Linked DNA regions of Homo sapiens: regions 1, 3 and 4 are each linked to region 2. Evidence: promoter capture Hi-C in 16 types of primary human blood cells and fetal thymus (Javierre and others, 2016). All regions are on one chromosome and are shown on one strand. Each heading gives the region's core, a stretch centred on a gene start or on the middle of the fragment in contact. The rest is flanking DNA. Distances are from core to core; before and after follow the strand shown.

What was found. The method cuts DNA at HindIII sites, captures the fragments that hold promoters and counts their contacts. A CHiCAGO score of 5 or more calls a contact.
Region 1: a contact is called between a fragment that was not itself captured here and the fragment with the promoter of PTGDR in region 2, in 2 of 17 cell types (total CD8 T cells and M2 macrophages). The highest score is 7.5, in total CD8 T cells.
Region 3: a fragment that was not itself captured here is called in contact with the fragment with the promoter of PTGDR in region 2 in 1 of 17 cell types (monocytes); the score reaches 5.2 in monocytes.
Region 4: a fragment that was not itself captured here is called in contact with the fragment with the promoter of PTGDR in region 2 in 1 of 17 cell types (total CD8 T cells); the score reaches 5.3 in total CD8 T cells.

The regions. Positions count from the first base shown.
Region 1 is chr14:52,046,862-52,053,637 of GRCh38, reverse strand. NID2 (nidogen 2) reads left to right here. Exons shown (of 22, transcript NM_007361.4): 5 at 1-59. Among named protein-coding and RNA genes, the nearest start is that of NID2, 19 kb to the left of the region's middle. The HindIII fragment of the contact is 4,118 bases long and covers 2,367-6,484 here.
Region 2 is chr14:52,263,368-52,270,954 of GRCh38, reverse strand. It overlaps PTGDR (prostaglandin D2 receptor), which reads right to left and starts at 3,257. Exons shown (of 2, transcript NM_000953.3): 1 at 2,295-3,257. The coding sequence starts at 3,140. The HindIII fragment of the contact is 7,987 bases long and covers 1-4,719 here.
Region 3 is chr14:52,479,380-52,486,405 of GRCh38, reverse strand. It overlaps TXNDC16 (thioredoxin domain containing 16), which reads left to right. Exons shown (of 21, transcript NM_020784.3): 13 at 3,441-3,584; 14 at 4,117-4,176. Among named protein-coding and RNA genes, the nearest start is that of TXNDC16, 70 kb to the left of the region's middle. The HindIII fragment of the contact is 2,463 bases long and covers 2,522-4,984 here.
Region 4 is chr14:52,030,701-52,037,881 of GRCh38, reverse strand. All of the region lies in intron 9 of NID2 (nidogen 2), which reads left to right. Among named protein-coding and RNA genes, the nearest start is that of NID2, 35 kb to the left of the region's middle. The HindIII fragment of the contact is 2,333 bases long and covers 4,765-7,097 here.

The DNA of each region.
Region 1 (6,776 bases), core at 3,176-5,675, 220 kb after region 2:
CTTAAGTCGAGGGACGTATGAGGTGGGACTGGAAGACAACATAGGTTCCAACACCGAGGGTGAGTGCATTAGAAAACTGGGTGCTAAGGTTTCATCTTAACCATGCTGGTTTTGCATAGCGTTGTGATTTTTCTCTTAAGTGGGTAGGTGAAAAGTTTAGCAAAAAGAAGATTGGATCTAATTTTTAATCCCTGTGTTTCAAGAGATAGAGTAAATTTCCTTTGCCAAATAAATCTTGGCAGGCAGATTCTGTTCGGAATCTCTTGATCATTAATAATGTTTTTTTAAAATATGGGCCTCATGAAGTGAGTGGGGGAAAACTGGGTTTGTTATGCCAGCTACGCTCTCAAGTGTAATGAACTATTTCAGTTTGAAAGTTCAGCAAAGGTAAAACATTTTGCGGCTTCATACACATTCCAGTGATGGACGGGTTTGTGCTTTTTAAAGTGGTGAGTTGTGCTGGCTCAGATGAACATGCCAGATTCATACTCTGTTGTGAGACAAGCCTAGCGCTTCCCTTGGTTGGGGAGATATGCTTGTGATGTGTGGGAGAGGAGAGCCCACAGGGAAAGAAAATGACTAAACACCTGTGTCTGTTGTCATTTCTGGTTCATGGCTATGCAGCTGTGGCATGAACCTCCCTGGAGCCTTGTCCTCATTTCATGACCCACTGATCGGACTGAGAGGCGAGGAGGGAGATGGCGAAAGCAGGCGGTGGTTAATTATCATGGACATGGGGTCTATGTCAGTCTTCTAGTCCTTGTTGAGACTTGTCATGCCAGCTGTTTCTTCCCCATCAGACATGGAAAGATGTGAATGGGAAACTGACTCCAGATTGTTTGTTCCAGGGACTGCTCATCTGACCTCTGATAGGAAGAAAGAGGTCAGAGGTGACTGCTTTGTTCTGAATCTCCATGTTTTTCCACCTTTTCTGTTTCCTGTCACTGTTGTGGCAAAAACATGGCTGACCTAGCAGAGAGGGCCTTCTGGGTTCTGCTCTGGTATTATCTGCAGGCTATTGCATGGAGAGGTACTAATTTCAGGAGGGAAGAAAATATTTTCTGACTAATGTGGCATTGTGTAAGGATTCGAGGGAGTACATTGGTGTCGGCTTCGAGTTTGAATCCTGGCTGCCAAGCTTGCTGGGTGACCTGAAGTAACTTATGTAACCCATAAGCCTCTGATTTCTCAGGAATTACTTGGGAGGATTCAATGAGACAGCGTATGTGAAGTTCTTGGCTTCGTGTCTGCACTCACTGGTTCTTAATAAATAGTGGCTGCTGTTACTAATTTTAGAAGATTTAAAACAGTGGGAATGGGGTGGAGGATGGGTAGAGAATGAAGAATGTGCTTATTAAAGAGTTTCACATTAATTTGTGCCTAAGGGACCACATTTCCATGAAGTTGAAGATGTAAATTTTATTGGAAGTCTTTAGAACCTTCAGATCCTTCTGAGAATCTCCAGAATTTACAGTATGAGTTTCCTCTAAATACATTTTAAGGCCAAGTATCAAAGATTTTCACAAAGGGATTTGAGGTAAAGACGCATTCCTGAATGGCCTTCTCATTTGTGGGTTGTGATTTCCTTCCCTGGGAAGAGCGTGGGAATATTAAAAAGCAGATCTATGGAGTCATGTATTAAAGGGTTAAGAAGGGACTGCACACCCTGCTTTGGGCTCTGAGAGCTTGAGATCACTGGAGTAAAGTGCAGGAGGCTTCAGGAACCAGCCATAGAGTAGAACAGAGGCACAGCTATAACCCTTGTGGGGCATGAACTATGATATTTATCAGCTGCCGGATGCAGTCTACTATAGACATCCTGGTAATGGCAAAAAACGCCTGTGAAAAAGCTGGTTAATACGCATTTTGGAGGAAGAAATCTAGAAGTGTTTGAAACTTAGACAAAAAAAATCCAGTTTTTGTTTTAAAAGAATTTACGGGGATGTATGAAGTATAGAAGCATGCAATTGTTAAATACTTTTGAGGGGATGCAGTGACTGTTTCTTTCACATAAAACATTGGAGGCTCAGAGGTCTGTCTGGTAAGTGTGGGCTTCCTCCGGGAAGCTGTGGGGTGGGAGTGGCAGAGACACAGAACATTGTCCGGTACTAAGTACCCAGCCATGTGGCATCTGCCTGGCTTTTTCTGCTGATGGAATAGAAAGCACATGGTTTTGGTGCTGGTTGGACTTGACCTTGACTCCCAGCTCTGCTATGTGGTTTGGGGCAAGACATGTAGTCTGTTTGACCCTTGGCTCTCCTCAGCTCTAAAACAGAGTTAATGAAGACCTCGTCATATACTTGCAAGAACTGAAATTGAGCTTGGGAAGCACCCTGCCCAATACATTTTAGTTTCCCTTTGAAGCTTTAGGGTAGTCATCTTGCTAAACCAAGAAATTAAGATTTAGTTAAAGGCCCAGAAAATATCACTCCTTTTTACATTTTTTTCCCCTTAGGGACTCATTTTACAGACCTTTCTTTTTGTTCAGAAATTTAGATTTTCAGATCATATCTACACCAGGCAGGAATGTCCTGGCCACACTCGAGCTCTGTCTTCCTAGGCCACAGAACAGCAGTAGATGGATGTGCAAGCATGCTTTCTCTGAGGAGTCTTGTTTCCAGGGAGCTCTGGTCGTTTTGTTGTCAAGTCAAAAAGTTACCCAAGCACCTGCCGTGTACCTGTCTCTGACTCGGTGCTAGTGGAAGTTTTGGCTGGCATTTGCTAAGTGCAGCCTGCTGCTCTAAAGTGAGAACTTGGCATTAGATTGCATTATCACAGTTAGTCCTCAGAATTGCCCTGTGGGGAGTTCGAGACCAGCCTGGGCAACATAGGGAGACCTTGCCTCTATAAACAATTTTAAAAATTAGCCGGGTGTGGTGGTGCTCACCTGTGGTCCTAGCTACTCGGGAGACTGAGGTGGGAGGATCACTTGAGCCCAAGAGTTCCAGGCTACAGTGAGCCATGATTGTACCACTGCATAGCCTGAGCAACAGAGAGAAATATTGTCTGAAAAAAAAAGTTGTCCTGTAGGGTAGGTACAATCATCCTTCCCATTTTACAGAGATGGAAACTGAGCTTGGAAATACTTAGTGACTTGTCTAGCAAGGGCAAAGACTGCAACAAAGTCATGAAGAAATTAGAGAAAGCTGTAGGGTGACAGAGAGTCAAAGGCACTGTCCAGGAGTGTCACTGCTGTTGGGGAAGTCTTTGTGAGGAAGGAGGGGCTTGAGCCAGGCCTGGGGTCAAAGTCTGAGAGGGAGAATGTGTGAAAACATTATGAACAGAGAAGTGACAAGAGCGGAGTTGCAGAGATGGGAATGAGGAGGGAGGAAAGGAGGGAGAGAGACAGAGACAAAGGTTGATTAAGGCAGTGGGGTGAGAGAGTTGCCAGTGAGGGCTTCAGCTGCCTGGGACCATGGGACTGCCTGTGTTGTGAGTAGAAAGGAATGAGGTTTACTGATAGGGGTCTTAGTTATTCTTAAGCCTGCTGAGGCAGTGCTATACGCAGCTTAATTTAATCTCAATCTGCATGATGAGTTAGGAGGAAGGACACCTGGCTTTCAGAAACCTCATGTAGTCCCACTCCACTTTTGGCCTTGTGAAAGGCTGCAGGAGTGTGTTGCAAGCTCAACTTCCACCCTGAGAAGAATTTAAGCAGGTTCTGCTGCCAGTGCAACCCTCCAGGTGCCAAAGACCATCCCCTGGGTGCACCTCCAGGTTGCAGAGGGTCTGTGACCAGGAGCCGCCGCCCCCCGATGCCTGTGAAGACACCTATATGAGGAGATTCCATGGTAGGGCCCCTCTCCCTTCACCAGAAGTGGAGAGAGCCTGTTAGTGTCATGCCAGCAGTTGTAAAAGGCCACCCCCAGGGTCGTGATCACTGCCACCAGCATCATTACATGCCACACACATCAAAATTAAACAAACATGAAAACTGGACGAAAAAGCATTCCACTGTTTGTTATAAAGTTGGATATGGTTTTTCTAACTAGTCTGTCATTCTGAGAGATGGGAAAACTTAGAAGAATTTTTCCTGCGGTGAAAATGACTTTTTTTTTTTTTGAGGTAGCAGTAAAAATTGTTAGTAGTTGCTCCAGCTGTCCTGAAGCAGCCCTGTGCACGAAGCCTCCTGTGTCCCTCTGTGTTGGCCCAGTGAACCCAGTCGACACCATGGAACCTCCCCTGTGTCTGGCCCAGGGCCTTCTGTGAAGAAGGGCAGGCCGGCCAAGGGCTGCAGACAGGTGCTTAAGTGTTTCTGGGAAAATGAAGATTGAAAGATGGCTCAGAACAAGTGCAGAGGAGAATTTTCCATTTTTGTTACGAACTCCTAGTTAGGACAAGTCTCAAGTCCTTTGGCAGGGCATTTCTTTCTTTCCTCTGATATCTCCCCACCCCATTTTTCTTTCTATTAAGGACATGAGAAAAGTTAAAAACAAACAAAAAAAACATTAAATAGAAAAAAAAGAGATTTAAAAAATCTTCATGTTAAGAATCCTTTAGCAACTATCAAACCTCAGTTAACAAATCCATGACAAAATGAGTTCATTCAAACCTGGCCAGCCTCCACCCTCCTGCTGTGCCCTGAGGTGTCAGCAAACTTCTTTATGGTCTGACTCTCCGTGGCAGGAGCTTCCTGGCATAGTGTGGGTCCCAGAGGAGGCCATGGACTAGAAACTGTATTTCTCAAAGTGTGGGCACTCATCCACCTTCCTCTCACTCAGCTGGGAGCCTGGTTAAAAACACTGATTTCCAAGCGCCTCCTCTACCTTCTGAACCAGAAACTGCATTTTTAAGCCACCTCACTCCTTCAACACCTCCAGGCCTCTGCCCAAATGTCTCCTTCTCCCGAGGTCTTCCCTGACCATACTATTTCAAAGAGCCAGGTGTGCCTGCCCTCTCTCACCCTCTTGTCTGACCCTGCCATATTCCTCTGCACTTCAGTGATTCTGATGCCCCCTCAATTTGATGGGATTTAGAGCCAGAAGATTGTTTCATCTCTGTAGGCCTCAATTTTCTCATTTATAAAATGGAGATATCTTCTAACTAGAATAGGAAGAAGTGCATGAAAATACACTCAAAGCCATGATAGGGACATGAAAATGACCACCGAAAAGAAAAAGTGCCACTTTTCCTCGGGTGGGTTTATTGCACATCTCATCTAGCTGGGATCCAGATCTTGATTCCCAGCCTTCAAGAAGTTCAGCCTCTTTGAATTTCACTGCAATTCCCATAGAAATTTGAGCAGTCACGTTGGCCGGAGGTCTGGCTTTTCTCGCCCTGGATAAATAGCTGCACGTGGGCTCAGCACCGTTCTAGCTCCAGGTCTCCCCCTTCTTCAGGGAAGGGCTATCTGGCTGCTGTGCGTCTGTATTACTTTCACTAAAGAATCTTCACGTTGTATTCTTGTGGATGGATGCCCAAATGGGCCGTAAGCACTGAGCTCAGCTTCTCAGGTGGCCAGAAATGAGCACGAGAAATTTCCTAACATTCTGCCCACCCCAGGAGCTGCCAATTGGTCAGATTAAATTTGTTAACGACATTGATGAGCAACACCTAGCTCAGAAATCCAAGGCTTGTTGTATCCCAAGCCTTCTATCAACACCAATTGGTGTGAGAATCACTGGCGGGGTGGCTAAAGTGTAGATTGCTAGGATGCACCCAGAGAGTGGAACTGGTAGGTCTAAGGTGGGCCCTCAGAATTTGCATTTTTAACAGAAATCTCAGGTGATCCTGATGCAGTGGTCTCTGGAATCCACCGGGAGAAATGCAGCTCTCCGTGTGAAGGACTGCATGGTGCTGTGCTGAGGGTGTAAGTTGTTATTCACCCCTTGGTGAATTTCCTTGATGCCTCATGCTGTTGTCAGAACTGAACCCCACAAACCTGCTCCTCCTCAGTCTCCCTATCTCAGTAACTGGCAGCTCCACCCTTTTGGTTTCCCACATCAGGACTGAACATCATCCCACATCCAGTCTACCAGCAAACCCTCTCGGTTCCACCTTCAGAATATCCCAGACCTGGGCCCTTCTTATCCCCTGTACCAGCACTTCTTACCACCAAGGGACCAGCTCCTGTCTGATTTACTGTAGTCGGAGCATGTTACTCTTCTGCTCGAAACCCTCTAGTGCTTCCCATCTCACTCAGATGAAAGCTCAAATCCTTCCTGTGATCTCTGAGACCCTGCATGAATGACCCAGGCCACCTCTTCTCTCACCATCCCTCCCACATGCCCACACACCCCTCCTGCCTGACACAGCACCACGCCTGCCCTCATCTGTGGGGTTCACTCCCTCACCTCCTCCTGGCCTCTGCTCAGTCACCTTCTCCTGAGGTCTTCCCTGACCATGCTATTAAAAAGAGCCATGTACACCTGCCCCCTCCCACCCTCTTGTCTTTCTCTGCTGTATTTCTTTGCACAGCTCTTACACATCCACCCCACTAAGTAATTTACTTGTTTATTGACTGCTGCTGGGGAGAATGTAAGCTTCAGGATGTGAATTTTTGTCTCTTTTGCTCCCTGCCATGTCCTCAGTTTCTAGACTAGGTACAGGTCTATAGTGAATGCTCAGTAAATACTTGTTGAATTAGTGAATGAATGAACAAAAATTGTAAGAAGCATTTACCTTTCACCTAACAAGCTGCCATTGTAAATGGTAAGTGTGCAAACCTGTGTGTGCACTTGGGTATGAAGGCAGGCGTGGAAGAGGGATTATAAATGGAGGCTTGCCTTCCCCCGGATTAGGGGCTGATCCATCTTCTTTCCTTCATGTGGCTGTTA
Region 2 (7,587 bases), core at 2,008-4,507:
TTGCTAGTTTTTTTGGAAAATCTTTTTCAACTCCATTGATTTTCTTCAATCCTCACAATACCCTAGGAGTTATCCAAGTCTCCGTAGAGACATGTCCAAATGCAATGTTCTTTCCACTGTATGATGCTGCTTTCTGCATTGGTCTGACTAAAACATTCAAACTCAGGTCAAAATTTCCATGCATTTGGCTACTGTCTACTTTGTCACAGCATAGATAAGTGAGGCCCCAACTTTACAATAGGAGCTCCTAAAGATTGTATAAAGGACCAGATAGTAACTATTTTAGGTTTTATGGCCAAGAGACAAAATCATAAATATTTGATAGGTACTAATATAACATGGGAGAAAACACATTTCCACAATTTTTTGATGGAATTCAAAATGTATTAATAATTGAGTACAATTTTTTTTTTAGATGGAGTCTTGCTCTGTCGCCCAGGCTGGAGTGCAGTGACACAGTCTTGGCTCACTGCAACCTCTGCCTCCCAGGTTCAAGCGATTCTCCTGCCTCAGCCTCCTGAGAAGCTGGGACTACAAGTGCATGCCACCACGCCCAGGTAATTTTTGTATTTTTAGAGACGGGGTTTCACCATGTTGGCCAGGATGGTCTCGATCTCTTGACCTCATGATCTGCCCGCCTCGGCCTCCCAAAGTGCTGTGATTACAGGCGTGAGTCACCGCTCCCGGCTGAGTACAATTTTTTTGTAATATGTATCTACTAAGGAGAAGAATAAAACGTTTTCTTGGAACAGTATTTTTCTTGAAATAGTATTTGGCTCAATTGAAGCTCAAAACTCTTGGGTCTCATCAAATTGATTGCAGAGATTCATTTGTAAGAATTATTCTTAACTCCAGGGAGATGTAAAACAGTGGCCAGGAAAGATTTGGCCTGTGAGCTGTGGTTTGCTAACTCCTGTTTTAGAGTGTGATTCTACAAATGTGAACCCTGAATCTGAGCTTGCATATCACCTGGGAACTTGTTAAGAATGAAAATTCTTTAAAAATGTCTGAATTAGAAACTCTGGGGAATGGGGTCCAGCCATCTTTTTTTCTAGAAGCCTTGCTGGTGATTCTGAGCTGGTGATTCTGAAGACCACTGCTATATGTCATCTGCGCCTATATCTACATTTAGATAGATATAGATTTATGTATTTGTTTATTTATTTTGGGGGCATACTGTTCCCACCCCTGCATGCTGATGCCCCAGACTTCTTTTTCCGCAAGCAGTAAGGCCTTCATTTAAAGGAAAATCGCTTTGTATTTCCCTTTCATTCACCATTGAAAGTAATATCCAAAATGGCTACATTCTGAGAAGAAATTTAACAACTTTCCTATTCACAGAAGTCTCAGGATTTCGAGAACGTGGGATTGGCAATGGAATTTCTGTAAGTATTGTTTTTGTTGAACAGGTACCTTGGGAGAAAGGAGAGGAGCAGCACTGAAAATGTTTCCTCAAGCCTCACCTACTCCCAGGTGTCTTGGCGGGGACTCCAGGAACAAATGCCTTCAAAATGAGGAGATAATTTCATTTCCATCGCTATCCTCATTACCAAATTGAAACCGGAGATAATGGCTTTCATGTCACCTCACTTGCCAAGATACACTCAAAACCCGTCAAGTCAGGTTGTCAAAACGACACCAGCAGCTAAAACATACAAAGAGCCTCGGCCTCCATCGCCACAATCCCTGGCGGATGCAGCACCAGAAACAGCAGCCGTGGCGTCTCAAAGTTTACGCACGCGTTTTTCAAAATTAAAACTATGCATCTGCAAATCACTCTGGCTGGCTTAAACCTCTTTTTCCCTTTCTATGCCAACACCGGGGAGAAGATCGTCCCAGACGCCATTCGCCCATTTCTGATACCACTGAAGTCATGAGCAGGTCTAACAAAATAAAACATCACCCAGCCGTCGGGAAGTAGAAGACTCCTGTTGCCAAGGAGAAACTAAGTTCTGCTCCTCCTAAGGCGCAAAAATGACCTCGAGATCTCCCCAGAAGGAAGCAGAGAGGAGGGAGTTCTGCCACATGGAGAGGGTTTTGCTGGGCTAGGGAGACACCGCCGGGCTCAGCCTTTCCCTTCCTTTCTCTAACTTTCCCTCATTTCGCTCCGCAAACTGAGTTATATCTCGGGGCTGTGGAAGGAATCCAATTTGGGGAACTCAGCAGCAAACCTTCCTGGCCCAGGGCGCAGCTCGCCTGGCGCCGCGTCCATCCCGATCCGCTCCACCCTTCCCGCCCCGCATCCGCGGCCGGACAGTCTCAGTGCCCTGCTGCCTCGGGGCCCGGGGACTCACAATTACGGGCAGAGAACACATAGTGAAGAGCACGGTCATCAGCGCCAGCAGCAGGAGGTGATCCAGCTCCTCCAGGGGCTGAGGGGACGCTTCCCTCCCGTCCGCGCGCGGCTCGGCACAGTCCCTGGTGCAGGAGCGCGGGTGCCGCTGCAGCCGCCGGTGCATCGCATAGAGGTTGCGCATGGCGCCGAGGTTGCACAGCACGGTGGCGAGGACCAGCAGCGCCATGAGGCTGGAGTAGAGCACAGAGTACCCCAGCACCGACAGCGAGCCCTCCTCGTGGACCATCTGGATAAAGCACCAGGTGCCGGGGCAGTACTGCACGAACTTCCCGAAGCCCATGAAAGGTAGCGCGCAGAAAGCCAGGGAGAAGGCGCTCACCACCGGGGCCACCAGTGCGCCCAGGCGCAGGGTGATGTGCCGTCGGTAGAAGAAAGGGTGCCCTAGGGAGAGCCAGCACTCCAGTGCCATGGCCAGGAGTTGCAGTGTCGAGGAGAGCCCAAAGAAGGACATGAAGAAGGCGAAGGCTTGGCACAACGAGTTGTCCAATGCGGGCGCAAGCACCCGCAGACTCCGGTTCTGAGCGTAGGCAGCCAGCACCACCGGGCTTAGGAGGCACTTGCCCAGCAAGTCGGTGACCGTCAGGCCACACACCAGCATGTAGAAGACCGAGGGCAGCGGGCGCAGTGGACGCCGCGAGCACCACCCCAGCCCCGAGCGCGCCAGCAGCCCCAGGGCCAGCAGGTTGCCCAGGAGGCCGGTGCTGAAGAGCACCCCGCCCATCACCGCCGAGTTGCCTTTTTCCACAGAGGTGGTGTTCTGGCAGCGGTAGAACGGCGACTTCATGGCGTGCGGGAGCAGAGGGCTGGAGTGAAGGCTGCGGAAGGGCGAGGGCCCCGGCGCCCGGGTGCTAAGGAGCCCCCGGCAGCTCCGCGCGCGGCTCGGGCGGAGAAGCTGCGCCACAGAAAAAGCTCCGAGGGCGGCGGGGTGTTCCCCACGGCAGGAACCTCCTATCTAAACTCGCGGGTCACACCCCTCTTTGAGAGGCGGGACGCTCTGCAGGGTGAGCGCCTGGCGCTGGCATTGAAGAGCGCGGAGCAGGCCAGTGAAGAGCTCGGCCCTGACGCGCTGCGTTCTCAGTAGAGACAGACTCTGGTGCCGAGTCGGAACGGCAGGAGGAAAATAGCCAGAATTCCAAGCACCCAACACCAGTCCTTCTAGCGAGGCAAGAGAAGAACTACTAAAGTGGAGGGGAAATTAAGCAGCAGCCACCTGAGAGGAGGGCAATGGTGCTGGTGTTTGAACTGGGGTGGCCAAGAACTCGAAAGATGAGCGAAGAGGGGAGGCTGAGAAAGGGCTTCTACCTAGTTGTCTTGAATTAGCTAGTCAAGGAAAGGTAAAGATAACTCACGTCTGGAAAGCCCCTGAGCCTTAGCTCCTCTTCTCTACTAGATCAGCGCAATTTGGGGCATTCACGGTCATCTCCATTGCATAGGCGAGGAAACTGAGGCCTTGGAAAGTTAAGTGATCTGCCCGTGGTGACAGAGCTACAGAAGTAGCAGAGCCGGACCTCTCACCCGATCTTCTATTTTGGAGTTCATCTGTCCTGTTCCCATGACTCCTCCTCCCAAGAAGTTGTCCAGATTTCAGGGAAGTGGTTTGTGGGAAAGCCAAGAGCCGGTGTTGGTCCTGGGTGCCATGAATCACATTGACTGTAGAGAGCTGGGGGGAAGGGCATGGTTAGCAGCACTGTTGCTGTCATCAGATAGGCCTGGGTTTGAGTCCAGGTTCTGCTCCTCACTGTGTGTGTGACCTTATGGGACTTGCTTAGCCTCTCAAGCAGTAACATCTATCTGGCCTGCTTGGCTCTTCTGAGGCATAGAAATAACACGTAAAGAGCAAGTACATAGAAAGTGCTCAATTCATGCAATCACCATGATTCTTATTTGATAGAAGGGTGTTTTGGTAGCTGATGTTTAACTGCAGTTTTTAGCATGGATTTTGAAATCAGAAAATGGTAGATTTGGCATAGAGCTTTCTCACTCCTCTGATTTGTGGCTACTAGAAAAAATTTATTCCTGTTTGGGCTTTGACTTGGCTGCATCATAAAGGCAAGGGAGTTAATTGTGATAAGCGTGATTTTATATCTTTAACTAGCATTCGATGCCCTGTGAGAGAAATTGGCTTTGAGTGTGGAATCTCAGTGGGATGACTAAGGTTTTGTTATGTAAGTGAGTAGATGATGCCTGGGCTTGAAACGGCTCATTTTTAGGCCTCATGCCAGTTCTGATGGACAGACTCAGGGAAAGAGCAAGACCCTTGGGATTTAGATGTGAAAGCCTGAAGGGTAGACAGAGAGGCTGCCTCCAGACTGAAAGTCTGGCCAGTAATTCAGGCCACAGGGTGGAAAAGAAGAATCTAAGCTTGGAATTAGATAGTTCTGAACTCCACCACTGGCTGTGTGACCCTGGGTTAGTTGTTCAACCTAATGGAATATGAGACTTATGCTGAACTTGTGGGGTTGTTGTGAGGTTGAGAAAACTTGAAGTGCTTTGGCATAGTGTAATAATAATAATAAGAGCTAATATTTATTGGTCCTGATGCAGGTTGGACACTCTCTAAGCCTTTCACTTATATTGACTCAATAGAAGGCCTTGTATAGAGTTAGTTCCCTTGTCTTCTACCTACTCTCTCTCATTCCCATCTCTAGCCCCTAGCACATAAGAATGGGTTTAGAAGAGCCCCACTCGACTTAATGAAGTGAAAGGAAGAGCAGGCCCCATAACCAAAAGACATGAGAATTTGATGAAAGCTGTGGTCTCCTCCATAGACAGACAGACACACACACACACACAGGCACACACACACAGACACACACGCAGACACACACACACACACTTTACATCAATCTCAGGCTGTTCACCATTTCCTGAAGCCCTTCTATGGTACCCAGAGGAGACCCAATGGACACTAGCTTAAGAATCCTTCCTCTAAAAATATTGCATGGGTTGTTCTTCTGAAGCATACCTACTTCAATTCTTTGCAGCTTTATTTTCATGCTACAGTGGCTTACAACTCCGTATTTATCCTAGGAACCCTAAGATTACAAATACCTTTTAAAGAAAACAACCCCAAAGTGTGACTGTTGGGCCAGCTGTGGGTCCTTGATAAGGTTTACATACATCATGCTTTAAGGTTGAAGGTTTTGAACAAGTGCAATTCAGGAAACCACACGTTTCCTCTCAGCCACTGTAGCTGGCCTTTACGATGGGGTTTCCGGTTGCCTTTCCTGATTGCTTTGCTGGTGTCCACCCTACCCTGTTCTCAGGCCTAACTTTGGAGTCTTCTGTCCCAGTTCCCGAGAAATTCTATTTTGTAATTTCACCATACAACCAAGAAAAGTATCATTTGTTCATGCGTCAAATAGTTTTTGCGCTCCTACTCTGTGCCAAGCATGGGGGTGAGGGGATGAAGCATGTGGGCACTGAGGGGCATACAACAGATAAGGAAAGGCAAACATCATGTCGTGTGACCTCTACAGGCTTATACATTTTTATATCAGCTTTCAGAGTAACCAGGCTAAGTACATTTTTTCCTTAAAAGGGAAACCTTTAATGAAAATATCTTAGGCTAAGTTAGTGGTAAAATTACCTCCATTATCTACAGAGCTGTACCAGGCTGCTTAATTGGGTTATAGGACAAATCTTCTGAAAATATATGACATCATGTGGATGACTATTTTAAATATATAATTATATTATGGCAATATAAACATAAAAATCATAGATTCTCATGGACAAGGCTCAGAAGCTGACATAGGCAAATGAAAACATTCACTTAGACTTGAGAAGGGATGGCAGAAAAATATCTCCTTGGTTTCTGATATTTTCAATGTTGTATATGTAATAATTATTTTAAAAGACTTTAAATGTAAAACAAGTGATATGGTTTGGTTCTGTCCCCACCCAAGTCTCATCTTGAATGTAGCTCCTATAATTCCCATGTGGTCATGGGAGGGAACTGATGAAATGTAATTAATCATGGGGGCAGGTCTTTCCCATGCTGTTCTGTGATAGTGAATAAGTCTCACAACATCTGATGGTTTTATAAAGGAGAGTTCCCCTACACAAGTTCTCTCTTGCCTGCTGCCATGTAAGACGTGACTGCTCCTCATCCACCTTCTGCCATTATTGTGAGGCCTCCCCAGCCATGTGGAACTGTGAGTCAGTTGGACCTCTTTCCTTTATAAATTACCCAGTCTCAGGTATGTCTTTATTAGCAGCATGAGAACAGACTAATACAAGAAATGTATGCTTATGGTGGGGATCTAGGAAGGGGAAAAGAAGGAAAAAGGAACATTTATTTTTTTCTGGATCCATTCTAACTATGCTTCTAAATCTTATCCATTGCTCACTTCTACTGAACTCCAAGTGATATTTTGGGCTGGGGCTTGTGAAGAGCAAGGAATGGAGAGGAGGGATGCTAACAAATGATAAACAAACTTAGCTCTCAAATTTGGAGCATGTTCTGCATGCTAGAGACCATGCTAGATGTTCGTTCACATTCAGGACCTGGAGTGGTAGCATAGAAGTGTGGCCATGATGTGTTAGGTCCTGGGAGTCATACTGTGTGAACTTAAATCTCAGCTTTGCCCCTTGCTAGCTGTGTACCCTTGCATAATCTTCTAACCTTTCTAAACCTCAATCCGCTTGTCTGTAGAAAGGAGGGAAGGAGGGTGAAGGGGGATAATTGGACTGAACTCTTAGGGTAGTATCTGGCTTAAATGAAATAATCTGCATAGAACAATAGTTAGCAATCTTGGCTGCACTTTGGAATCACCTGGAGAGCTTTAAACCTTTGTGATGCTTCAGCACCCCAAATTGATGATATCAGACTCTTTGGGGTTGCCCTCCAGGCTTCAGTATCTTTTTTGAAGCTCCCCAGTTAATTCCTGTGTGCAGCTCAGGTGAGAATGTTAAGCACTGTGCTGTGGCATGCTCTGCGTGGCTCCGTAAGTGATGTTCATTAATGTTTTTATTCCTGCCAACTGCACTGCAGAAGTTTTCTTTATCTCTCTTTTCTTGGATAAGGAAAATGAGACTCAGAGAGGTTAATAACTTGTTTAAGTTCACACAACTGGTATGTGATGAGTCTAGAATTGGCATCCAGGTCTTTTGGATTCCCCAAGCCTCTGCCTTGGAGAAAGAGAATTGCAGAGAAGACCAGAGAGTGAGAGAGAAAGGAGAGATCCTGCCACTTCCTCTATCTGCTCAGAAGTCAAGAGGCAGAACTA
Region 3 (7,026 bases), core at 2,504-5,003, 210 kb before region 2:
AGGCTGAGGTGGGAGGATTACTTGAGCCCAGGAGCTGGAGGTTGCAGTGAGCTGAGATCTTGCCAGTGCACTCCTACCTGGGCAACAGAGTGAGACCCTGTCTCAAAAAAAAAAAAAAAAAAAAGCAGCATGTGTGACTGAAAATAGTGTGTATGTTATTAATGAATAGGTTGAAGGTAGAGCTGAGGAGTGACTAAATGTACAAGTGATGGTAGCTTATTTAGAATATAAGAAAAGAGGGAAAGGAGGAAAAAGAAACAGAAGACTGACAGGAAAATGAAAATATATGAATAATAAGAAAAAAATACAGTAAATAAGAAAATAGGTCTTTACTAAGTTTGGTATTGAGAATGTAATTTTTAGTGTCATGGAATTTGGTGCTTAAAAGTACCTTTAAGTTATATAGTGCAACTCTCATGCTTCACAAGAGTTGAACATTGAGGCCCAGAGAGTTATGTGATTGACTAGAGTCGTATAGAAAATGGCTGAGGTTGTAGTGAAATCCAGATCTAGAATTTTAATTTATTGTATGGTCATGTGTCTCCTAACGATGAGGATAGTTTCTGAGAAATGCATCATTAGGTGATTTCATTGAGCAAACATCATAAAGTTCACTTACACAAACCTACATGGTGTAGCCTATTACACACCTAGGGTGTATGATATATCCTATTGCTCCTAGGCCACAAACCTATACAGCATGTTACTGTACTGAATACTGTAGGTACCTATAACACAATGGTAGATATTTATGTATCTAAACGTGTAAACACAGAAGAGGTACAATAAAAACATGGTATAAAAGATAAAAAATGGTACACTTGTATAGGGTACATACCATGTATGGAGCTTGCAGGACCGGAAGTTGCTCTGGGTGAGTCAGTGAGTGAGTGTAAAGGCCTAGAACATTACATTATTGTAGATTTATAAATACTGTACACTTAGGCTGTACTAAATTTATAAATTTTTTTTCAATAATTTGTCTTAGCTTACTGTAACTTTTTCACTTTATACATTTTTACAATTTTTAAAAACATTTTGACTGTTTTGTGATAACATTAAACTTAAAGCACAAACACATCATACAGCTGTACAAAAATATTTTCTTTTTTTATATCCTTATGCTATAAGCTTTTTTCCATTTAAAACTTTTATGTTTTACGTTTTAAACTTTTCTCTAAAAACGAAAACACAAACACACACATTAGCCTAGGCTTGTACAGGATCAAGATCATCCATATTACTCTCTTCCACTTCCACATCTTGTCCCTTTGGAAGGTCTTCAGGGACAGTAACAAGCATGGAGCTGTCATTTCCTATGATAATAGTGCCTTCTTTTAGAACACCTCCTGAAGACCTACCTGAGGCTGTTTTACAGTGAACTTTTTATTTTATAAGTGAAAGGAGTACACTCTAATGATGAGTATAGTAAATATATAAACCAATAATCTAGTCCTTTATTATCATTATCAAGTATTATTTACTGTACATAATTATATGTGCTGTACTTTTTTCTTTTTTTTTGAGACAGAGTTTCACTTTTGTCGCCCAGGCTGGAGTGCAGCGGTGCAATCTCGGCTCACTGCAACCTCCACCTCCTGGGTTCAAGTGATTGTTCTGCCTCAGCCTCCCAAGTAGCTGGGATTACAAGCATGCGCCACCATGCCCTGCTAATTTTTTGTATTTTTAGTAGAGACGGGGTTTCACCATATTGGCCAGGCTGGCCTCGAACTCCTGACCTCAAGTGATCCGTCCACCTCGGCCCCCCAAAGTGCTGGGATTACAGGTGTGAGCCACTGTCCCTGGCCTTATGTGCTATATGACTCACAGTAGGTTTGTTTACACCAGCATCACCACAAACATGTGAGTAATGTGTTGTGCTACGATGTTACAATGGCCACTACATCACCAGATGATAGGAATTTCTCAGCTCTATTATAATCTTAAGGGACTACAGTTGTATATGTTGTCCATTGTTGACTGAAATATCATTATGTGGTACGTGACTGTATTAGAAATTATGTATAAAACAATACTTTAGTTCTATGAATGTATTGTCTTCTCTCTCCCTTCTTTCTTTTTAATGTGTTGTTACAGAGAATTACGAACATACGGAGAGAGAATAATAGAACAAATTCTTGTTATCCATTACTTGGCCCCAGCCATTATCAAACCATGGCTCATTCTGCTCCAATCACCCCCCCCCCTTATTGTTTTGTAGCAAATCCAAAACATGTAATTTCATCTATAAGTATTTCCCTGGGTTTCAGAAATATAAGGATTTTCCTTTTTAACATTAACATAATTAATACTATTATTACATCTAAAAAATTAACAATTCTTAATACCATCGTATATCCAGTCAGTGTTTGAACTTCTGATTGCACCATGCTCTTACATGCCACTGTGCCTTTGCTCATGCCATTCTCTTTGCTCTTTATGCCACCACTGCCTTTCTTCTCTGCCTACCTGAGTTTTATTTTCCTTTTCATGTTCATGTTTTCATGTTCATAAAGAAGCTTTATCCTTTAATCAAGTTATATGCTCCATCTGTCTTACCGTACAATCTCTACAAACTTCCAACAGAATATTTATGAATCCAAATGTATTTTTGAAGGTACATGGATGGTTGGATGGATGGATGGATGGATGAATCTATCAGTCTATTGATTGGTCTATCTAAAGGAAGGGTTTCACATATTCAGAATCCACTCATAACTTGAGGCTTTTTGGATAAAATCCAGACTTCTTGGCTCATGTGACCTCTTATGATCTAGCCACTGCCTAGCCTAGAGTTTTCTCATGCTGTTTATTCTTTCAGCCCCATCTTGTCTTAGTCAAATTTGCCTTCCCTCAGCCTTGTATGTGCTCAACTCTTTTATGTCTCAGAGCTTTCGTATATGTTATTGTCTTTGTCTAAAACATTCTTTTCTTGATTCTCTACCTGGCAGACTTTGGGCTTCCCAATCTAAATAGCCCTGTTATAATCTCTCAGTGTATCCTTTACCTTTCTTCATAAATTGATCATAATTTATAATTATATATTTATTCAGTGATCAGTTTATCTGACTTTTCCATAGATAGAAGTTCCATGTGGTCAGGACTATGTCTGTTTTGTTTACCAGTTTTCCTAGTGCCTGTCATAATGCTTGGCATATAGTAGAGGCAAAATAAACAAAATGGCACTATTAATATTCTTTGTAGAACAAATTTTAATTTTGAAATTGACTAAAACTTCCCAACTTCTAGGTCAGGAAGCATCTCAGAGTCAGTTAAGCAACTGCAAAGTTTTCTAAATATCATGCATCCTAACTATTAAGATAGGATGAATTCAAAAGTTTGTATAAAGTACTGAATTATTATATGCTTCCTATGAGAAGAGCTTAAATAGTTTTCATTATACATCAATATTTAAATTAATTTCTTTTCCAACATTTTAGATGTTCAGGATGATGAAGTGGCAGAAACTGTTTTCAGAGATAGGAAGAGAAAATTACCTTTGGAACTTACAGTGGAACTAACAGAAGAAACATTTAATGCAACAGTGATGGCTTCTGACAGCATAGTACTCTTCTATGCTGGTTGTGAGTATGAGCCTTTAGAGGACTGTTACATATTAGGACATTTAAAAACCCAGATTTAATTTTTGGCATTCCATGTATTGCATGTTGTAAAATGAAATTGCTTTCGTATGTCTCAAGTAGACTGTGTGCATTGAAGCATTTACTTCTGATTCTGGGATTGTGCAATTGATTTATATCTGATTTACAAATTAAAGGTGAATGATTAAACTAGATGTTCATTAATTTTGAAAAATTGTGACTCACGCTAATGATTTTTAACATATTAACAGTTATTATAGATTTATAGTAAGTATATTGCTTTTATCTTCAAATCATAGCCATTTAGCTATATTCCTTGCAGTACAAGTGCGGAAAATCAGTTGCATTTGAAACTCTCTTAAGTGGTTGGACTATGTTGAGAAATGTATAGTAGAATATTTCTGATTAACAATAATTTTGGGAAACCTCATAAATCTGTATATTTGTTACATATCAGTGTGGATGCTTTGTAGATATACATGTAATATCTGTTGAATTTTTAATTTTCATATAGGGCAAGCAGTATCCATGGCATTTTTGCAATCCTATATTGATGTGGCAGTTAAACTGAAAGGTAGTGTACTGTGCTATGCATGCTTATTATTCTGATTCTAAGCTGTAGCTATTTGTAAAACTATGTCATGCAAAAAATATAGAAAACCACATAAAATTTCAGTTACTATGTTTGTGTCTCCAGGGTTAAGTTAATGAACCAGGAGTTTCAAGAGTGCTTAGGAGCATTCACTTTGATTTGTCTTCATAGAACTGTCTTTAGTAGAAAGTAGAAAGCCTATGTATTTAGTACTTGTGGCTACACAGTTAATACAACAACCTTTTTGGTTTAAGTCAGTCATTCAGCAAGCATTTATGAGTGCCTACTCTGTGCCAGTTACTCCAGTTAAATACTGGAAATAAAAATTTGGCAGATTCAAGACCCAGTCTCATGGTCTAATGAGAGATCAAAAATCCCCGTGTCCTTGAAACTATATAGTTTACTCCTCATGGATGGAATGCTTTTTAATATCCAGGATCTTTTTATGTTAACCATCCTGTGAAACCTCATTTAATAGTGGGCAAATAAAGATCCAAGGAATGGACTTTAACTGAAAATATCTGTGCTACCATCTCAGCAAAGACATAGGGGAAAATGAGGGAGGCCTGTTAGTAAGAGAGGTAATAATGGATTAGGTGTGCTTGATGTAAGTTCCTTATGGTTAGGTAGTGTGCCTTATATCAGCTTACTGGGCTTGGCATATTGCCTTACATTGCAGAATATCTGGTTTTCAATAATTGTTGGATAAATGAATAATAGAGTTTCATAAATTTTGTTTCATTTAGTGGAAACTATGTACTGATGTACAACTTATTTATACATTGAAGCTTTTGAAAACTCAAGAAATTGATTCTAGACACTCAACCCTAAGTGTACCATTCCTTTTTTAAAATTTTTTTTTATTTCCATAGGTTACTGGGGAACAGGTGGTGTTTGGTTACATGAGTAAATTCTTTGGTGGTGATTTGTGAGATATTGGTGCACTCATCACCTGAGCAGTATATACTGTGCTGCACCCAATTTGTGGCCTTGTATTTCTTACCCTATTCCCACCCTTTCCCCTTGAGTCCCCACAGTCCATTTTGTCTTTCTTATGCCCTTGCATCCTCATAGCTTAGCTCCCAAATATGAGTGAGAACATGTGATGGTTGGTTTTTCATTCCTGAGTTAGAATAATAGTCTCCAGTCTCATCCTGGTCACTGCAAATGCCATTAATTCATTCCTTTTTGTGGCTGAGTAGTATTCCATTATATATATATATATATATATATATACATATATATATATACACACACACACACACACCACAGTGTCTTTGTCCACTCGTTGATTGATGAGCATTTGGGTTGGTTCCATGTTTTTGCAATTGCAAATTGTGCTGCTATAAACGTGTGCAAGTATCTTTTTCATATAGTGACTTATTTTCCTTTGGGTAACCAGTAGTGGGATTGCTGGATCAAGTTCCTTTTAGTTCTTTAAGGAATCTCCACACTGTTTTCCACAGTGGTTGTACTAGTTTACATTCCCACCAGCAGAGTAGAAGAGTTCCCTGTTCACCACATCCACGCCAACATCTATTATTTTTTTATTTTTTTGATTATGGCCATTCTTGCAGGAGTAAGGTGATATCTCATTGTGTTTTTGAATTGCATTTCCCTGATCATTGGTGTTGTTGAGCATTTTTTCATGTTTATTAGCCATTTGTATATCTTCTTTTGTAATTGTCTCTATTCATGTCCTTAGCCCACTTTTTGATGGGATTGTTTGTTTTTTTCTTGCTGATTTGTTTGAGTTCATTGTAGATTCTGGATATTAGTTTTTTGCCAGACGTATAGATTGTGAAGATTTTCTCCCATTCTGTGAGTTGTCTGTTTACTCTGCTGGACTGTTCCTTTTGCTGTGCAAGAGCTCTTTAGTTTAATTAAGTCTCAGCTATTTATCTTTGTTTTTATTGTGTTTGCTTTTGGGTCCTTGGTCATGAAATTCTTGCCTAAGCCAATGTCTAGAAGCGTTTTTCCAATGTTGTCTTCTTTTTATTATAGAATTTTTATAGTTTCAGGTCTTAGATTTAAGTCTTTGCTCCATCTTGAGTTGATTTTGTATAAGGTGAGAGATGAGGATCCAGTTTCATTCTCCTACATGTGGCTTGCCAATTATCTCAGCACCATTTGTTGAATAGGTCTTTCCCCACTTTATATTTTTGTTTGCTTTGTTGAAGATCAGTTGGCTGTAAGTATTAGGGTTTATTTCTGAGTTCTCTATTCTGTTCCATTGGTCTATGTGCCAATTTTTATGCCAGTACCACACTGTTTTGGTGACTCTGGCCTTATAGTTTCAAATAGGTAATGTGATGCCTCCAGATGTGTTCTTTTTGCTCAGTCTTACTTTGGGTATGTGGGCTCTTTTTTGGTTCCATGTGAATTTTAGGATTGTTTTTTCTAGTTCTGTGAAGAATGATGGTGGTATTTTGATGGGAATTGTGTTGAATTTGTAGATGGCTTTTGGCAGTATGGTCATTTTCACAATACTGATTCTACCCATCCATGAACATGAGATGTGTTTCCATTTGTTTGTGTCATCCACGATTTCTTTCAGCAGTGTTTTGTAGTTTTCCCTGTAGAAGTCTTTCACCTCCTTGGTTAGGTATATTCCTAAGTATTTTTATTATTTTTTTTTTTTGCAGCTATTGTAAAAGGGGTTGAATTCTAGACTTGATTCTCAGCTTGGTCGCTGTTGGTGTATAGAAGAGCTATTGATTTGTGTACATTGATTCTGTATCTGGGTACTTTGCTGAATTGTTTTATCATTTCTAGGAACTTTCTGGATGAGTCTTTAGGGTTTTCTAGATAAACAATCATATCACCAGCAAA
Region 4 (7,181 bases), core at 4,682-7,181, 240 kb after region 2:
GAGATAAATTTTTAAAAAGAAGTGCAGTACTTGTACATTGCATCCCACAAAACATTTTTGGAAAAAAATTTAAGACCCAGTTAAATGGGAAGATGTTCCACATTCATGGATTGGAAGACTTAATACTGTTAAGATGTGAATACTTCCCAAATTGATCTATTAATTCAACATAATCCCTATCAGAATCTCAGCTGGCTCTTTGAAGAAATTGGCAAGCTGATTCTAGAATTTATATGGAAATTCAAAGAACACAGAATAGCCAAAACAATCTTGGAAAAGAATAAAGTCAGACTTGTATTTCTCAAACTCGAAATCTAGAGTAATCAAGACAGTGTGGTCCTGGCGTAAGGATACATGTAAAGATCAAAGGAACAGAAGTGGGAACCCAGAAATACTCACATTAAAAGTCAATTGCTTTTTCAACAACAGTGCCGGGAGTGGGGAGGGATAGCATTAGGAGATATACCTAATGCTAAATGACGAGTTAATGGGTGCAGCTCACCAACATGGCACATGTACACATATGTAACAAACCTGCACGTTGTAAACATGTACCCTAAAACTTAAAGTATAATAATAATAGAATTCTGATGGTTAAAAGACAAAACAAAACAAAAAACACAGTGCCAAAACAATTCAATGGAGAAAGAATAGTCTTTTAAACTATTGTTAACTATGGTGCTGGGACCACTGAGTGACCACATACAAAAGAATGAAGTTGAACCTTTTACCTCACAGCATATCCAACTCAAAATGGGCCAACAGACCTAAGTGTAAGAGTTAAAACTTTTAGAAGAAAACATATGGGTAAATTTTTGTGACTTTGAATTTGCTAATGGTTTCTTAGGTACGACACTAAAAGCACAAGCAACAGCAAAATAAACTGGGTGTCATCAAAATTTTAACAGTTTGTGCTTCAGAGGACATTATTAACAAAGTGAAAACACAGCCATAGAATGGGAGACAGTATTTTAAATCATGTGATATTTGTTCTAGAGTATACGAAGTATCTTACAACTCAATAAAAAAACAAGCTAACTAAAAGATGGGCAAAAGCTCTGCAAGGACCTCTCTCCAAAAAGATATACAGATACCCAATGGGCATGTGTAAAGATGCTCAGCATCATTAGTCATCAGGGAAATGCAAATCAAAACCACAATGAGATACTACTTTACATCATGTGGTCGAGTATAATCAAAAAACGGGTAATAACAAGTGTTGGCGAGAACATGGAAAATTCGGAACCCTCATACGTTGCTGGTGTGATTATAAAATGATGTGGCTACTGTGAAAAACAAAATAGTGGTTTCTCAAAGTGAAACACAAAGTTACCATTTAATGGAGCAATTCTACTCCTTTCTATATACCCAAAAGAAATGAAAACATAGATCCCCACAAAAACTTATTCGTGTATATTCATAGTGGCAGTATTCATAATAGCCAAAAGGTGGAAGCAACATACATGCCCATCAGTTGATGGACACCAAAAAATATATTCATATACTGGAATATTATTCAACCATAAAAAGGAATGAAGTACGGATACATGCTGCAACATGGATGAACTCTGAAAACCTTAAGTGAAGGTAGTCAGTGACAAAGGACAGCATACTGAATGGTTACAATTATGTGAAATATCCAAAATAGGCAAATCCACATACATAGAAAGCATATTCATGGTTGCCCAGGGCTAAGAGATAATGAGAGCATAGGGCGTTAATAGCTAAAGGGTACAGGGTTAATTTTGGGGGTGATGAAAATGTTCTGAAATTGATTGTGGTGACGGTTGGATAACACTGAATAGACGAAATTGTTTAATTATGTACTTTAAACGGATGAATTGTATGGTATGTGAATTACTTCTCAACTGAAGGCCAGGCATACTGGCTTATGCCTGTAATCCCAGCACTTTGGGAGGCTGAGGTGGGTGGATCACCTGAGGTCAGGAGTTCAAGACCAGCCTGGCCAACATGGTGAAACCCTGTCTCTACAAAATAAAACATATATATATATATATATATATACACAAAAAAATTTAGCCAGGTGTGGTGGCATGTGTCTGTAGTCCCAGCTACTCAGGAGGCTGAAACAGGAGAACTGATTGAACCCAGGAGGCGGAGGTTGCAGTGAGCCAAGATTGTGCCATCGCATTCCAGCCTGTGCAACAGAGTGAGACTCCGTCTCAAAAAATAAAAATAAATGGAAGCAAATAGTAGTAGAAACAAAACTCTAAAACCATTCTCATCGGGTACAGTGGCTTACACCTGTAATCCCAGCTACTCTGGAGGCTGAGGTGGGAGGATCACCTGAGCCCAGGAGTTTGAGGCCAGAGTTGGCCACATAACAAGACCCCGTCTCAAAGTAAGCAGTGGTTCTCAAATTTTAATGACCATTAGCCTCACCTGTGAAGACTGATTTTAAAATGTTCTAGGCATATCATGTCACAGAAAGACATGCAGGAAACTTAAAAGCATGTTGCTCTGTGAAAGCAGCTAGTCTGAAAAGGCTACATACAGAATCATTCTAACCATGACATTCTGGAAAAGGTTACACTATAGAGACAGTAAAAAGATCAGTGGTTGCCAGTGGTTCAGGAGGAAGAAGGAGAAGGATGCATAGGTGGAACATGGGATTTTTAGGGCAGTGAAACTATTCTGTATGATATTGTAATGTTGGTTATAGGCCATTATGCGTTTGTCAGTCTATAGAACTGTCCAACACCAAGAGTGAGCCCTACTGCAGACTATGGGCATTAGTTAATAATGTGTCAGTATTGATTGGGGATAACAAATGCACCACACTAATGCACAATGTTGATAATAGGGGAAACTGCACATTTTGGGTGGGGGGATATGGGAGCTCGTACTTTCTGCTCCATTTTTCTCTAAATGTAAAACCATCCTAAAAAGCAAGGTCTTAATTATTAAAAAATGTTTCAAGCAAGCCAGAGGATGAGCTTGTGAAGTCAGGGAACTCTACAGATGGGAAGTGGCTTTGTCAGATCAAGGGGACATTTTAATTCTGAAAACCAGGTCATGTTTTCCCCTAGAATGTAAGAGCCACACCAGGAGAAAAAAACCATCTTCCTCAATTCAGCCACTGTATTGAAACTGTTGAGCCCAGAGTTAGCTCCTCAGTGAGGTGAATCTGTAAGTGATACGCGGTTCTGTGCTTTGTTATTGGAGCTGAGGGCTCCTTAAGCCTCAGCAGGCTCAATAAAGAAGTGTTGCTTCAGCAATATGACAAGATTAAGGTACAAGGACTAGACTCTTTTCTAGGATGCGAAAGTGACTTGTAATGAGAATCCCGAGGTGCTTTGGTTTTAAGAAACTTGGTTGGGAATGTAGGCATTAGGTGCCCAGATATTGGATTGTAAGGTAGCAAATGAACACATGAAAATGTGAGTTGATTTTAGAGGAACATGTAAATTAGAAAGGGAAAGATTGCTGTAGTAGATTTCTCAAAGAGAGATTTAAACCTACTGGGGAGAATGGTCTTTACCTTTAAATGTCCAGGTCAGCCCTGTGTTGGGTGTAGGCATCTGATCTGTAAAAGCAACTGTTAGTGAAATTTCCCAGGCTATGGAGTCCCATTCAGATTCTGGAACCATTTAGGAAAAAGATGTGTCTCTGGGTATATTTTTCCTAGAGACATACCAAATGAGAGTAAGAAAGGATCAGAGAAAGCAAACTGGCAGGTACCAAGTTGCTTGTTTTCTTTAGAATTTTATGATTTTCCCTCCCACCCCAGTCAAATAATAATATCAAAGGATGGTTTACTTGGTGCCAAGTACTGTTCTAAGCACCTTACATGAATTAACTCATTTAATCCCCACAATGACCTCTACCCAATGGTGGGGTGGGGGTGGGGTTATTTGTTATCCCATTTTACAGATGATGAGACTGAGGTATAGAAATGAAGTAATTTGCCTGGTCATAGTAAGTGACCTGGGTGAGCTGGGACTCAAACTCAGGCACTGGCTCCAGTACGCACACCCTTACCCCTCATGGCTCTGCTGTTCCACAGTGGCCTCATGACTGCCTCATAATTTAGACCAAACTTTGAAAGAGGCAATGTGTGTCTTTTAAACCCTTTGTGTTTGAACCCTACTTCATCCACACACAGCAGTACTGTTCATTCTACCTGAATAGGAGGGAAAAAAAGAAAAACAAAAAAGAAACACCCAAAAGTTTTTTCTTTCCCCTCTTGGTACACAGCAGTATCTTCCTAAGAACTGCTCAGTTTTTCCAGAGGGAACGATAGTTGTTGGAATTCATGTGAAACAGCGCAGCTGTCCACACCTGATGTGGGTGTGGTGCGACTTCCCAGGGCGAGGATGCAGAACTGGGGTGTCTTTCCCAGTGAGTAATTGGAGCCTCTGTCCCTCGGTGACTTCTCAACCAGCAGTGCCACCCCCCACCAGTTGTTTGAGCTTTAAGCTTTAAGTGTGAGTCAGCTGTTTTTTGTTGTTGTTGGTTGGTTGGTTGTTTTGTGGGGTCATAAAACACGATCCAAAAATGCTTCCTGTCCTTCCACTTCACGGGTCCTTTTGGCGAGTTGAGGAGGCTCTGGGCAGAGGGCTGTGCAGTGAAGCTGAAGGGACTGTTCCTTTAAGGAAAACCGCTCTTCCCCTTGATTAAATGAGTAAATTAGTTCCAGATCCTCTGTTAAGAGAGTCAGGCAGTTTAAGAGGGTGAGGGCGAAATAGAAAATGTCTTAAGAAGGATACTGTGTTCTTTACTTACTATAATAGGAGAAAAGCTTACAAGTCATAGAGAATGAGTCGTGAAATGGTTTTAGAAATGTATTTTAAAAATGTTTTGGGAAGCCAAGTTCAGTGAATGGGGCCCTGTGCTCAGAAGAGCCCCATGCTTGGTTTAACGCTTTGCTTTGAACCATGGGCTCCACATTTTCATTTTGCACTGGGGATTGCAAATTATGGAACTAATCCTGTCAGTGACATACATTTTAAATCAGTATTGAGTAATTAGGGACACTTTCTTCTCAATTTTAGGTAGGATAATATATCCTGTCCAAGTTTGCAAGTCAACTTTTGAGCTGAGATTTTTTTTTTTTCTTTTAATGCCTAGCAGGGTGGTAAGCTCTTGATGTCCATGTGAACACACTAATCTTTGCTGGAATGTGCCATGGTGAAATTTTGATGCTGGAAAGTACTGAATAAGAAGGCTAAGCATTAGTATTTATAAATCAAAACATGTTGACAATTACTTCCTGCTTTGGTGGGGTATGCCAGGCATTTTGTACAGAATCTTCCTAAAATGGAGAAATGATGGGAGATGATCACGTTCTTGTCTTACATTGGGTCCTAATGGATGAAGACATGACCTTGTCCTTAGTTATAACCTATTGAGGACTGACTCAGGAACCTGGTCTAGGCTCAAGTTAACTCGGCAACCACAACCCCAGTGCGGTGCCTCTTTCCTGTCAGCCAAGAGATCCAGAGGAACGGACCTCCAAGGATGTCTGCATGCTTCAGGGAGCTAGGCTTATGCTGACATAGTTCATCAGGTTTAAAAAGTGCTGGAATTATTTATTGGTCCTTTGTTTTGGCAAAGATTCTGTTACTCCAGCCGACAACATTGTGGTGAACTGAGGATAAACCCATAGCCCTCCTTATTTTCAGCCAATAATACGGGAATCAATAATACGGGAATATTCCACTACAAGAATGCACTGTGGTGTTTCTTATAAAGTGGGATGGAAAGAGTTTACCAGAAAACAAGGCTGTCTCAGCCAAGGCATCCCAGCTCACAGCAGGCTATGACAGGGCACTGGAAGAGCCATAACGTGGGCAGTAGGGCAGGCACGGGGGAGAATGCCAGACACCCTGAAGGACTTGGGAGCGAGTCCAGTCTATGAGGTCAGCTGCAGCAGTCAGCACTTGGGATCTAGATTAGGAGTCACTCTGGGCAAGTCTCCCCCCATAGCAGTGGGGTTGTGGTTGCCAAGTTAACTTGAGAGTATAGACCAGGTTCCTGAGTCAGCATCTGTTACAATGGAGAACAACAGGGTCATGTCCTCATTGAAGGCTCAGTATAAGACAAGAACCTGATTCTCTCCTGTTGTTATTTCTCCATTTTAATAGAAGATTCTGTACAAAGTGGGGTGGGAGACACGGGTCAGAAAGAGTGAAATGATAGAGAATCCAGGAGGAGGTGGTAAAATGGGTGGTACTGCCAGTGTCTGCCTACAGATGCCATGATGCTGGTGTCTGTGAGTAGTGAGAACTGGTGAGCAGGATGGGACTCAGAGGATGCTAAGCTGGCTATCAAGACAGGGCCTCAGGCACAGAAGTATGAGGCAGAAGCCTGAGTTATTACAACTTAGATGGATCTCCCTTTGTAGCAGAGATGGCTCAATGTAGAACCTGACAGGCTTAGCTGGGGCTCTGGAAATCTTTTGAGTCTAAGATTAGAGTTAATTCTAGGGACTGAGGTTGAGCTAGAACCTCAAATAATGATGAACAGTGGCCCCACTGAGAAGGCAGAAGGAGTGCAGTCAGTAGAGACTGGGTAGACCTGCCAATGGGGAATTGCCTTTCAAATATGTTCTGTTGGGTTTTCTTAATTTTCTTTAGCAGGATTGGCAGATGTACATGTTCCTATTTCCATTTTACATGGCAGACTCAGAAGTACACAGAAGTGCCAGAGTTGATAGATTCATTCTACCTGAGCATCTGACACTCCTTCCAATACCTCTGTGCCATTGGCTTAGACTAGATAACTTCATGAAGTTCCTTCAGTGAGGGTTGCAGCAAAGCGGTGGAAAGCATGAGCTATGGAACCAGACTGCTAGACTTTTATTCCAGCTCCATCCACCTCTTCTGACTGTGTAACCCTGGGCAGGTTATTTGGCCTCTCTGTGATGCAGCAGAAGTGGAGATAGTATTTTCCTCACCATGTAGTTAGAAGGATGTAATCAGGCATCCTCCTATCTGTTTAGAACAATGCCTCACACATAAATGCTCAATGAGCATTGACTATTATGTAGAAATAAATATATATATTTTAAGACATGGTCCTGTTCTGTCACCTAGGCTGGAGTGCAGTGGCACAATCATGGCTCACTGCAAGCTTAAGCTCCTGGGCTCAAGTCATCCTCCTGCCTCACCCTCTGGAGTAGCTGGGACTACAAGCATGGGCCACCATGCTCGGCTAAT